3 separate regions of the Homo sapiens genome follow, and regions 2 and 3 are each linked to region 1. The links are contacts of gene promoters, found by promoter capture Hi-C in blood cells and fetal thymus (Javierre and others, 2016). All regions are on one chromosome and are shown on one strand. Each heading gives the region's core, a stretch centred on a gene start or on the middle of the fragment in contact. The rest is flanking DNA. Distances are from core to core; before and after follow the strand shown.

What was found. The method cuts DNA at HindIII sites, captures the fragments that hold promoters and counts their contacts. A CHiCAGO score of 5 or more calls a contact.
Region 2: a contact is called between a fragment that was not itself captured here and the fragment with the promoter of PPM1M in region 1, in 2 of 17 cell types (non-activated CD4 T cells and endothelial precursors). The highest score is 6.2, in non-activated CD4 T cells.
Region 3: a contact is called between a fragment that was not itself captured here and the fragment with the promoter of PPM1M in region 1, in 4 of 17 cell types (M2 macrophages, naive B cells, M0 macrophages and 1 more). The highest score is 5.2, in M2 macrophages.

Annotation. Positions count from the first base shown.
Region 1 is chr3:52,244,003-52,247,191 of GRCh38, forward strand. It overlaps PPM1M (protein phosphatase, Mg2+/Mn2+ dependent 1M), which reads left to right and starts at 1,757. Exons shown (of 10, transcript NM_144641.4): 1 at 1,757-2,046; 2 at 2,693-2,810; 3 at 2,972-3,189. The coding sequence starts at 1,823. RefSeq lists silencers at 1,631-2,000, 2,041-2,100. The HindIII fragment of the contact is 3,516 bases long and covers 1-2,536 here.
Region 2 is chr3:52,045,469-52,048,657 of GRCh38, forward strand. It overlaps LOC124906238 (a long non-coding RNA gene), which reads left to right and starts at 761. Exons shown (of 2, transcript XR_007095908.1): 1 at 761-1,854; 2 at 2,351-3,189. RefSeq lists an enhancer at 852-2,051. The HindIII fragment of the contact is 4,073 bases long and covers 1-3,189 here.
Region 3 is chr3:52,415,354-52,418,542 of GRCh38, forward strand. The region is part of intron 4 of PHF7 (PHD finger protein 7); the gene reads left to right. Among named protein-coding and RNA genes, the nearest start is that of PHF7, 6.3 kb to the left of the region's middle. The HindIII fragment of the contact is 1,167 bases long and covers 783-1,949 here.

The DNA of each region.
Region 1 (3,189 bases), core at 507-3,006:
CAGCTCAGAGGTCCTTTGGGAAACTTTCTCTGACATCGCCCCTATCCTCTTGCCAGCTGGATGAAGCAGCATCCACCAGAACTGCTACCATCACTGCAGGGGGCTTGGTGGGCAGAGGCCTGGCTTGTCTCCATTAGCACTGCGTTCCTGTGCCCAGTGTGGCCCCAGCAGACACTGTGGGTTCAGTCAATCAGCCCCCAGGCTGGTCTGGGACTGAGTCATCGGAGGGAGTGGGTGTTGGGCACAGGTCCCTGCCCTAAGAACCTTCCTTCTTGGGCCCGAGGAACTCCCACTGGGGCAGGACTAGCTGCTGGGAGGAAGTAGGGCTTACTGAGCGTCTACCTGGGCTAGGGAGTGGAGGTGAAGGTGGACTCCTCATACAGCTCATATGCAGGCACTGGGCTGTGGAGCCTTAGCCGCTTTTAATTGGCAAGCCCTGGCTTCCTGGAGGAGGAAAGGGGAAGAGAAGTGCCCTGGGGGCGAGGATTGAGTCAGCTGCATTGTCATAATGGAAATAGTACAGCCCTGGGTGTCCAAGACTTCCCCTCCATGGGCCTCAGAATCGTCCATATGATGTAACACTCTTTTTTTTGAGACTGAGTCTCGCTCTGTTGCCCTGGCTGGAGTGCAGTGGCTCCATCTCGGCTCACTGCAACTTCTGCCTCCTGGGTTCAACCGATTCTTGTGCCCCAGCCTTCTGAGTAACTGGGATTACAGGCGCACACCACCACGCTTGGCTAATTTTTAGTACAGACGGGGTTTCACCATGTTGGCCAGGCTGGTCTCGAACTCCTGACCTCAAGTGATCCGCCCGCCTCGGCCTCCCAAAGCACTGGGATTACAGGCGTGAGCCACTGCCTCCGGCCAAAGTAACACTTTTGCACAGGGAGTTGGACTTGAGTGACAAATGGGTGACAAAGTGCTTTGTTAACTCGCAGATGTGAAGGGGACACTGCGGCTGACCGCCTGGTGACAGCTAGCCAGTGGTTGAGAGACCGCAAGATGGTTCCTCGTCTTTCACTTCCCTCCGTCCCAGGTCTGAACTCGGACCAGCTGGAGCCTTTGGGGGACCACGGATTCCCCTTTACACTCACACAGATTTCTCTTGTCCGTCACTCACTCACAGTCCAGTAAGGATCCTGCTGTCTATTCCGCGAAGACATCTTGAATGCAGGGACAGCCATTTGGAAGACTGTCCTCGAGGGTGGCAGCAGCCTCTCAGGACGGGGAAAGCCAAGGTGCCCACTAAGCCCGTCTGGGGTGGAGGGTGGCAGGCCGGGGTGGAGAGGATTGGAGGCCGCCTGAAGGAACCTGTGCTCGGTGGCATTTACTCAATGTGGGGGTCTGACACCTCCCAGCTCATTTTGTCCCCATCTTCCCCTTGCGTCAGGTCCCCACCCAGCAGGAGGAGGTCCGAGGATCTGCGCGACGCTGGCCCCGCGGAGTGTGGGGGACTTTTCCTCTCAACCACCAGTGCCCCGCAAGCGTGGGTGAACAGTCCTCCCTGGCTACTGTGGGACGCTGGGCAGGCGACTTCGCCTCTCTAGGCCTCGGTTTTCCTGCTTGTCAAATGGGGCTGATGCCGGCGTGGGCTTCTTCAGGCGGTCGCGAGCGTTGACCCCTGGAGTCAGCGAACCAGCCGCGCACGCACTCCCGGGCGGAGGTCGGGGCTGGGGGGCGACGCCTCCCGTCTGCGCGCCCCCGGCCCCGCCTCCCGCCGGCGCACCCCTCCCTCGGCTCCGCCCGCGGCCCGCTTCTTCCTCCCGCGGGCGGCCCAGCCCTAGCGCCCCGCGCTCCGCGGGCAGCCCCCTGCCGCCGCGCCATGTCCGCCGGCTGGTTCCGGCGCCGCTTCCTGCCTGGGGAGCCGCTCCCCGCGCCGCGGCCGCCTGGGCCGCATGCCAGCCCCGTGCCCTACCGACGGCCCCGCTTCCTTCGCGGCTCCAGCTCCAGCCCCGGGGCGGCCGACGCCTCGCGCCGCCCAGACTCCCGGCCCGTGCGCAGCCCCGCACGAGGACGCACGCTACCCTGGAATGCAGGCTACGCCGAGTGAGTGCCCCTCCCCGACCCCCAGCTCAGGCCCGGGCCTGAACCCGCTTCGGGTCCTGCGCCCGCCTAGAAAGCGGGAGGAGCTGAGTGACAGTCCCCACCCACCTGTGGACAGCCCCTTCTTGCCCTCACCTCCGAATCCTGACAACTTCCCGGTCATCCCGACCCAGCGTTTTCCTTGGGATTCCGACCTCCCCCTCAGAGAAGACAGGAGGTCGGGAAGGACCTGCAGCCCAGGGGCTTCCAAGATGAGGCCCAGAGACTCGGTAGAGTTCCAGCATTCGGGGCTTTGGAGATTTCCCCTCGCCCTCTACCCCCACCATCTCACCCTGGGTATGACCTGCGCTGTATGGGACAGGGCTTTGGGCTGCGACAGGACAGGGGCAGGAATGGCAACCTACCCTTACCGTCTAGCCCTGGGTCACCAGGTAGGCTCCAGAGGAGCTGGGCCCTGACTTTTACCTTAGCCATGAGGCCAGTGAAGTTAGGAAGCTTACATCGTGGTTGTCTAAGTGTGTGTTAGGGACAGCACTGGGGAGCTGTTGCCCCAGAGGGAGGGGTCTTCTCCCTGTGCTGGCTTGGGTCCCTGTGCCCATGGGGACATAGGTGTGTCCCTGGAGGGTCGCTTACCATTTCCCGGCCTCAGGATTATCAATGCAGAGAAATCTGAATTCAATGAGGATCAAGCCGCCTGTGGGAAGCTGTGCATCCGGAGATGTGAGTTTGGGGCTGAAGAAGAGTGGCTGACCCTGTGCCCAGAGGAGGTGAGTGCAGTCTGAGTTCTTGGCTGGAATCCCTCCGACAGGCTGGGGCCACGACCTGCAGGCTGAGGTTCTTACCCTGCTGCCCCAGGTCCTAGTTAGGTTGCGTCAGGGGACAAGTGGGGAAGTCAGGCAGAGGCTGACACTGAGCCCTTCCTGTGCAGTTCCTGACAGGCCATTACTGGGCACTGTTCGATGGGCACGGCGGTCCTGCAGCAGCCATCTTGGCTGCCAACACCCTGCACTCCTGCTTGCGCCGGCAGCTGGAGGCCGTGGTGGAAGGCTTGGTGGCCACTCAGCCCCCCATGCACCTCAATGGCCGCTGCATCTGCCCCAGTGACCCTCAGTTTGTGGAGGAAAAGGGCATCAGGGCAGAAGACTT
Region 2 (3,189 bases), core at 405-2,904, 200 kb before region 1:
CCCTGAGGCCAGAGGAGGAGTTGAAGGCATGGAGGGAGGCGTGTGGAGACCCCACACATGCACGGAAGCTACACGGCAGACAATGGCCCCTGGAAGTGTGCGATAGGACAGCCCTGGGAAGGGGGCTGGCTGCCTGGGCAAAGAGAGGTTCTAGCAAGGGGCCGGAGTCTGTGTCACGGTCACCTGTGGGGGCTCATCTGACCCAGCCAGAGACAATGGGGCCAAGGCCTCTAAGAGTTGCTAATGATAGTCTTTAATGACCATGCCTGGAAAGGGATGACTTCACCCAGGACACACCCTGATGAGAGGAGGCTACAGTCACAGGCAGGCGGCTCCTCCATTGCTATGAGACCTGCATGGGCTTGTCTAGTCAGAGGATGGCAAAGCTGTGTGTGTGTGTGTGTGTGTGTGTGTGTGTGTGTGTGTGTGTGTGTGTGTGTGTGTGTGTGTGTGTGTGTCTGGTCCCTCACAGAGCCAGGGCCTAGTGAAAAGCCTCAGGGCAGCAGGGTGGGGGGCCCAGCTTCTACCTTGCCTCACTCTATGACACCCCTCTGCAAACCTCACCTTCCCCATCAGCACAGGGCTGGGAAGCAGAGTGATTCCCGAGCCTTCCCAGGGCTCTCAGGTAGGCTGGGTCTCAGGAGTCAGGTGAGAGCACTGTGTCCTGGTGGGGCCCAAAGAAAGCAGGGGAAAAGATGTCAAGGATCAGGACCTGAACACCCTCCATCGGGGCACCCAGAGGTTAACATGCTACTGTGCTCCCTACAGAGAAAGCTGGCTCCCATATCAGGCCCTCTGGCTTCTGCCAAGGATCTGGGGGTAGGTGTTGGTGTCCCAGACACATCCATTCTGACACAGAGGGAGGTACAGTGCAGTCATGCTGTTGGCCCAGGTGCACAGCACATGGGCAGTAGCAGGGAGGGGCAGGCTCCAGTGCAGGCTTGCCACCTACCCCCACCCTGGTCCATTCATGAGGAATGACTTTCCTCTGGGGAGGGGCCCTGTGGGGGTGGCAGGCAGAGCAGGGCCCTCTCCTGAGGGCTCCCTCTGCCCCCAGGCTCAGAGCGGGACCACCCTAGGGAAATGTTCATCTCTCCTGCGGTCTTGTCGGAACCCCTTCAAGGTCATCGCTCCACAGCACTCCAAGTGCTTCCTCGTATCCAGCCTTAGTCAGTCCTCATGTTGCACTTGATTCATTTATCAGAGGACAAGTTGAGGGCCCCATTATCCTGCCACCCAGTGTGACATCACCGAGCTTCCCTCGGGCATGTTCCCTCCCTGGGACTGCCCAGCCGGCACAGGAAATGGCTGCTGGATGAATGTGCAAGTGAGTAAGTGTCTTGGATCCTCCTCCCATGGGAACACTAAGCGGCTAAGGAGTGGACCAGCTCCCCGGGGTCCAGGCTGAAACGGAGGCAGAAACAGGGACCAAGGAGGCAAACAGGCTCAAGAGAGCAACAGGACTGGGGACAGAGATAAAGCAGGTGCACCCCCAGAGAGCCAAGTGTCCAAGAGCTCAGGACGGCTGCGCTGAGGGCCTCAGCCACAGATGGCCTGAAGCAAGCAGGGCCCGCTGGGGAGAGCATGGCAGAAACGGGGTGGGATAGGAGGAGCTCAGGACACGGGGCCATGAGATGGGAGCCCAAAACCCAGGGGTGGGGGACCACAGTCCAGTAAGCGTGGCCCGGCCCAAGGTCACAGAGCAAGGACCCAGGGCCCCAGCCTCTCAGCCATGACCTGGCCCTCTGTCCCCCAGCAGGGAACCTTAGCCAGGCCCAGTGCTGAGGTAGGAATTTCTACAGGTAAGGAGGACACAGACGGTCAGAGAGACCACTGGCCCCAGAGTGCACAGGGGTAAGTGGCGGGGCTGGCCCTCTTCAGGCAGTCCCAGTCCTCCGTCTGAAGAGCCGGCTCAGGAGGCGGCTGCCACTCCCACCCCCACCCCGTCCTGTGCTTGGGCACGCTGGCACTGCCAGGCACTTACTCGGTTTGTCGAGGGCCCAGCCCCCAGCCCAGCACCCGCGGGCTTCCCCAGGCCTGGGCGAGGGCAGCAGGAGGGAACAAAGGCCCAGTCTCTGCCTGCTCAGGCCCCCACCCCCTTTGCCTGCCCCTGGCACAGAAGGAACAGGGCCCTGAGGGAGCCCAGGAGCAACAGCAGCACCGCCCCCTTGTCGAGGATGCAGCAAGAAGCCCCCTCCTACCCACAGAGGCCTGCCGGCTGAGCGGCAGGATTCTTCCACGCTCCACATGGGAGTGTTAGGGGGTAGAACTGAGGGACTGCAGTCACACAGCTGAGATTTGCACCCAGGCCCCACAGTGGGCAGAACCTGCCCTCTACCCCTCTCCACAGGCTGCGCATGATGGTTGTGACTGCGTTCTGGTGCAGACTAACTGAAGAGCAGAGATGAGGGAGAGAAGAGAAGGAGAGCCTTGGGCACCCCAACAGAGCAAGTCCCAGGCTGAGCCGCCCTCACCCTCTCGGCCCTACCTACCTACCTTCCACCTGGATCCAGCTCAGTGCTGATCACACAGTTTGCTGAAGGGATAGAGCTGGGGAATGTCAGAAATGGGGAAACTGAGTCAGCTTCCAGGCCTCTTAAGTCCTTGACTGGGGCTCACCTGATCCAGCCAGAGGCAAGGGAGACCTAAGCCACTCTGGAGCCTCCATTTCCTGATCTGTAACTCGGGGCTTGTTGTCCACTGGGGCCTCACTTCCCCAGACTGTGGCCCCCATCCTTCTCCAGACCTCCTCCCTGCTCTAGCCCAGGGCCTCGCTTAGACCCCCACCCCCAGGGGAGCCTTGACAGAGGCCCATGCCCACCCTTCCTTGTACACGCCTGAGCACGGCTGATTCCTCCCTGTGAGCCCAGGCCAATAATGTGCTCTTCATGCCACAAAGCTGAAAAGCACTCAGGAACCAGGTGCAATCGGCCTAAGGGACCTGTCCAAGGCCACCCAGCCCTTAAGAAGCAAAGAAGGGCTGACCTGTCACTACCCACTGATATCTCAGGACCTGCAGGGGCAGGGTTAAATGCACATTCCCCTCTCACCCACACGGCAGCAAGAGAAAGAGTTAGGGTCCTGGGGGCTGCAATCTGGGCAATGCCTAAGCAGACAGCCTCAGACAATGAAGGGCGAGTCAGGACTCAGTTGTGTCAACTTGGTATATACAACCTCTCCAAGCCTTGA
Region 3 (3,189 bases), core at 116-2,615, 170 kb after region 1:
GCCTGGCTAATTTTGTATTTTTAGTAGAGACAGGTTTCACCGTGTTAGCCAGGCTGGTCTTGAACAAAATTCACTAATTTTAAGGGTCCAGTTTGATAAGTTTTGATAAATGTATGTCCCCAAATAACCACCACCCCAATCAAAATAGGTAATATTTTCATCACCCCAGAAAGTTCCCTCCTGCCTCCTTTTCCAGTCAATCCCACTAGACGTAATCACTGTTCTGATCTATGGATTATTTTTGGCTATTCTTTTACTTCATATAAGTGAAATCATATAGTTTATAATCTTCTGTATCTGGCTTTTTTCTCCCAACACAGTGTTTTGGAGATTCATCCATGTTGTTGCATGCATTCATAGCTTGTGCCTTTTTATTACTTGGTAGTATTCGGTTGCATGAATAAGTTACTATTTGCTTATCTGTTCACCTGTTGATGAACATCTGAATTGTTTCCATTTGAGGACTATTATGAATAAAGCTACTTTAAGCATTCATGTACAAGTCTCTTTGTGAACATGTGCTTTCACTTCTCTTGTGCAGATGCCTAGAAGTGGAATTACTAGTTGTATGCTAATTAGATATTTAACTTTATGTGAGGTTGCCACATCACTGTCCAAAGCGGTTGTACCAGCTTACACTCCTACCAGCAATTTATAAGAAGTCCAGTTGCACAGTATTCTTGCCGGAACTTTGTTTTGTCAGTGTTCTTAATTTTAGCCATTCTACTGGGTGTGTATTGGTATTTCATTGTCGTTTTAATTTCCATTTTTCTGATGACTAAAGCTTCTTTTCATGTGCATATTGGCCATTCACATATTTTCTTTGGTTTTTTGGTTTTTTTTTTTTTTTGAGATGGAGTCTCGCTCTGTCGCCCAGGCTGGAGTGCAGTGGTATGATCTTGGCTCACTGCAGCCTCCACCTCCCGGGTTGGAGCAATTCTCCTGCATCAGCCTCCCAAGTAGCTGGGACTACAGGTGCCTGTCACCACGCATGGCTAATTTTTATATTTTTAGTAGAGACAGGGTTTCACCGTGTTAGCCAGGATGGTCTCGATCTCTTGACCTCGTGATCTGCCCACCTCGGCCTCCCAAAGTGCTGGGATTACAGGCGTGAGCCACCGCGCCTGGCCCGGCCCACATATTTTCGTTTGTTAAGTATCTGTACAAATATTTTTACCCATTTAAAAACACTGAGTGGTGGTCGGGCACAGTGGCTCACGCCTGTAATCCCAGAACTTTGGGAGGCCGAGGCGAGCAGATCAAGAGGTCAGGAGATGGAGACCATCCTGGCTAACACGGTGAAACCCTGTGTCTACTAAAAATAAAAAAATTAGCCGGGCATGGTGGCAGGCGCCTGTAGTCCCAGCTACTCGGGAGGCTGAGGCAGGAGAATGGCGTGAACCCAGGAAGTGGAGCTTGCAGTGAGCCGAGATCACGCCACTGCACTCCAGCCTGGGCGACAGTGCAAGACTCCGTCTCAAAAAAAAAAAAAAAAAATTGAGTGGTTTTATTATTGAGTTGTAGGAATTGCTTATATATTTCAGATACAAATTCTTTTTCAAATATATGTATTGAGACTATTTTCTTCCTAGTCTTTGGCTTGCCTTTTCATTTTCTTAATGGTGTCTTTCAAAGAACAAGTTTGTAATTGTAATGGAGCCCAGTTTATCCATTTTTTTCTTTTATGGTCAGTGCTTTTTGTGTGTTGCAAGAAATCTTTACCTACCCATAGAATTGCCTTGGTGCCTTTGTCAAAATCAATTGACCATATATCTGTGGATCTGGATAATCTATTTATGTCATTGATCTATGTATCTATTCTTACACAAGTCCCCACTGTCTTGATTATTGTGGCTTTATAGTATATTGAAATTCAGTATTGTTAAGTTCTACAATCTTTTCCAAGATTGTTTTGACTATCAGGTCCTTTCTTTATAAAGTTTATATTAAGCTTGTCAATTTTTCTTTAAAAAAAAAGTCTACTGGGATTGTGATTGGGATTGCATTGAATTTATAGGTCAATTTGGGAAGAATTGACAAAAAATATTGAACCTTCCAATCCATGGACATGGTATATTTTTCCACTTATTTGGGTCTTTTAAAATATATCTCAGCAATGTTTTGTTGTTTTGGTGACAAAGTCTTGTACATCTTTTGTTAAATGTATTCCTAAATATTCTGTGGTTATGCTATTGTAAATAGTATTTTTATTTCATTTTTAAGTTTATTGCTGGTATATAGAAATGCATTTTATTTTTGTATATTGATTTGTATCCTGTAATCTTGTTAAATTGAGTTTGATTAGTTGTTTTTTTATTTTGTTGTAAATGCCTTGTTACAGGATTCCCTATGCACATAACCATGTCATGTGTGAATAAAGACAGTTCTACTTCTTTCTCTCAATCTTTGCCTTTTATTTCTTCTTGCCTTGTTGTATTGGCTAGGACCTTTAACCTAACATTGAATAGAAGTGGTGTGAGTTGTTATCCTTGTCTTGTTCCCAACATCAGGGGACAGCATCTAGTTTTTCACTATTAAAGTATGTTAGCTCTAGGTTTTTTTCATAGATGTTTTTATCAGGTTGAAGATCCCTTTTATTCATATATAGTTTGCCCAGAGTATCATGAATGGGTGTTGAATTTTCTCACTTTTCCTGTATTTATTGAGATTATCTTGATTTTTCTCTTTAATTTTGTTAATGTAGTTTGTTACATCAACTAAATGCTCTAATGTTAAACTAGTCTTGCATTCTTGGTATAAACTCTACTTGGTCATGATGTATTGTCCTTTTTATATGGTGCTGGATTCAGTTTGCATCTGTTTTGATTTTTATATCTGTGCTCATGAGAAAGATTGGTCTGTGATTTTCCTTTCTTGTAAGTCCTATCAGGTGTCAGGGCTTAGTTATAATTTTGATGTATTTACAAGCATATACATTTTTTACATAAAAATTAAACATTATACAGAGTGCTTTGTATCTTGGCTTTTTTCCATCATATATATTTTGGAAATCTTTCTGTATAGAACATATAGATATAGTTTTTTCTTTTTAGTAGCTAATTTATTAAATCAATACATGCTTATTGCAGAAAACATGAATGATACTTAAAAATATGAAGAAAACAAATCACTCATCCCAAAGCCCTGAGATAATTAGTTTTAAAATATGTGTTTCAAAAGTTCAATTCC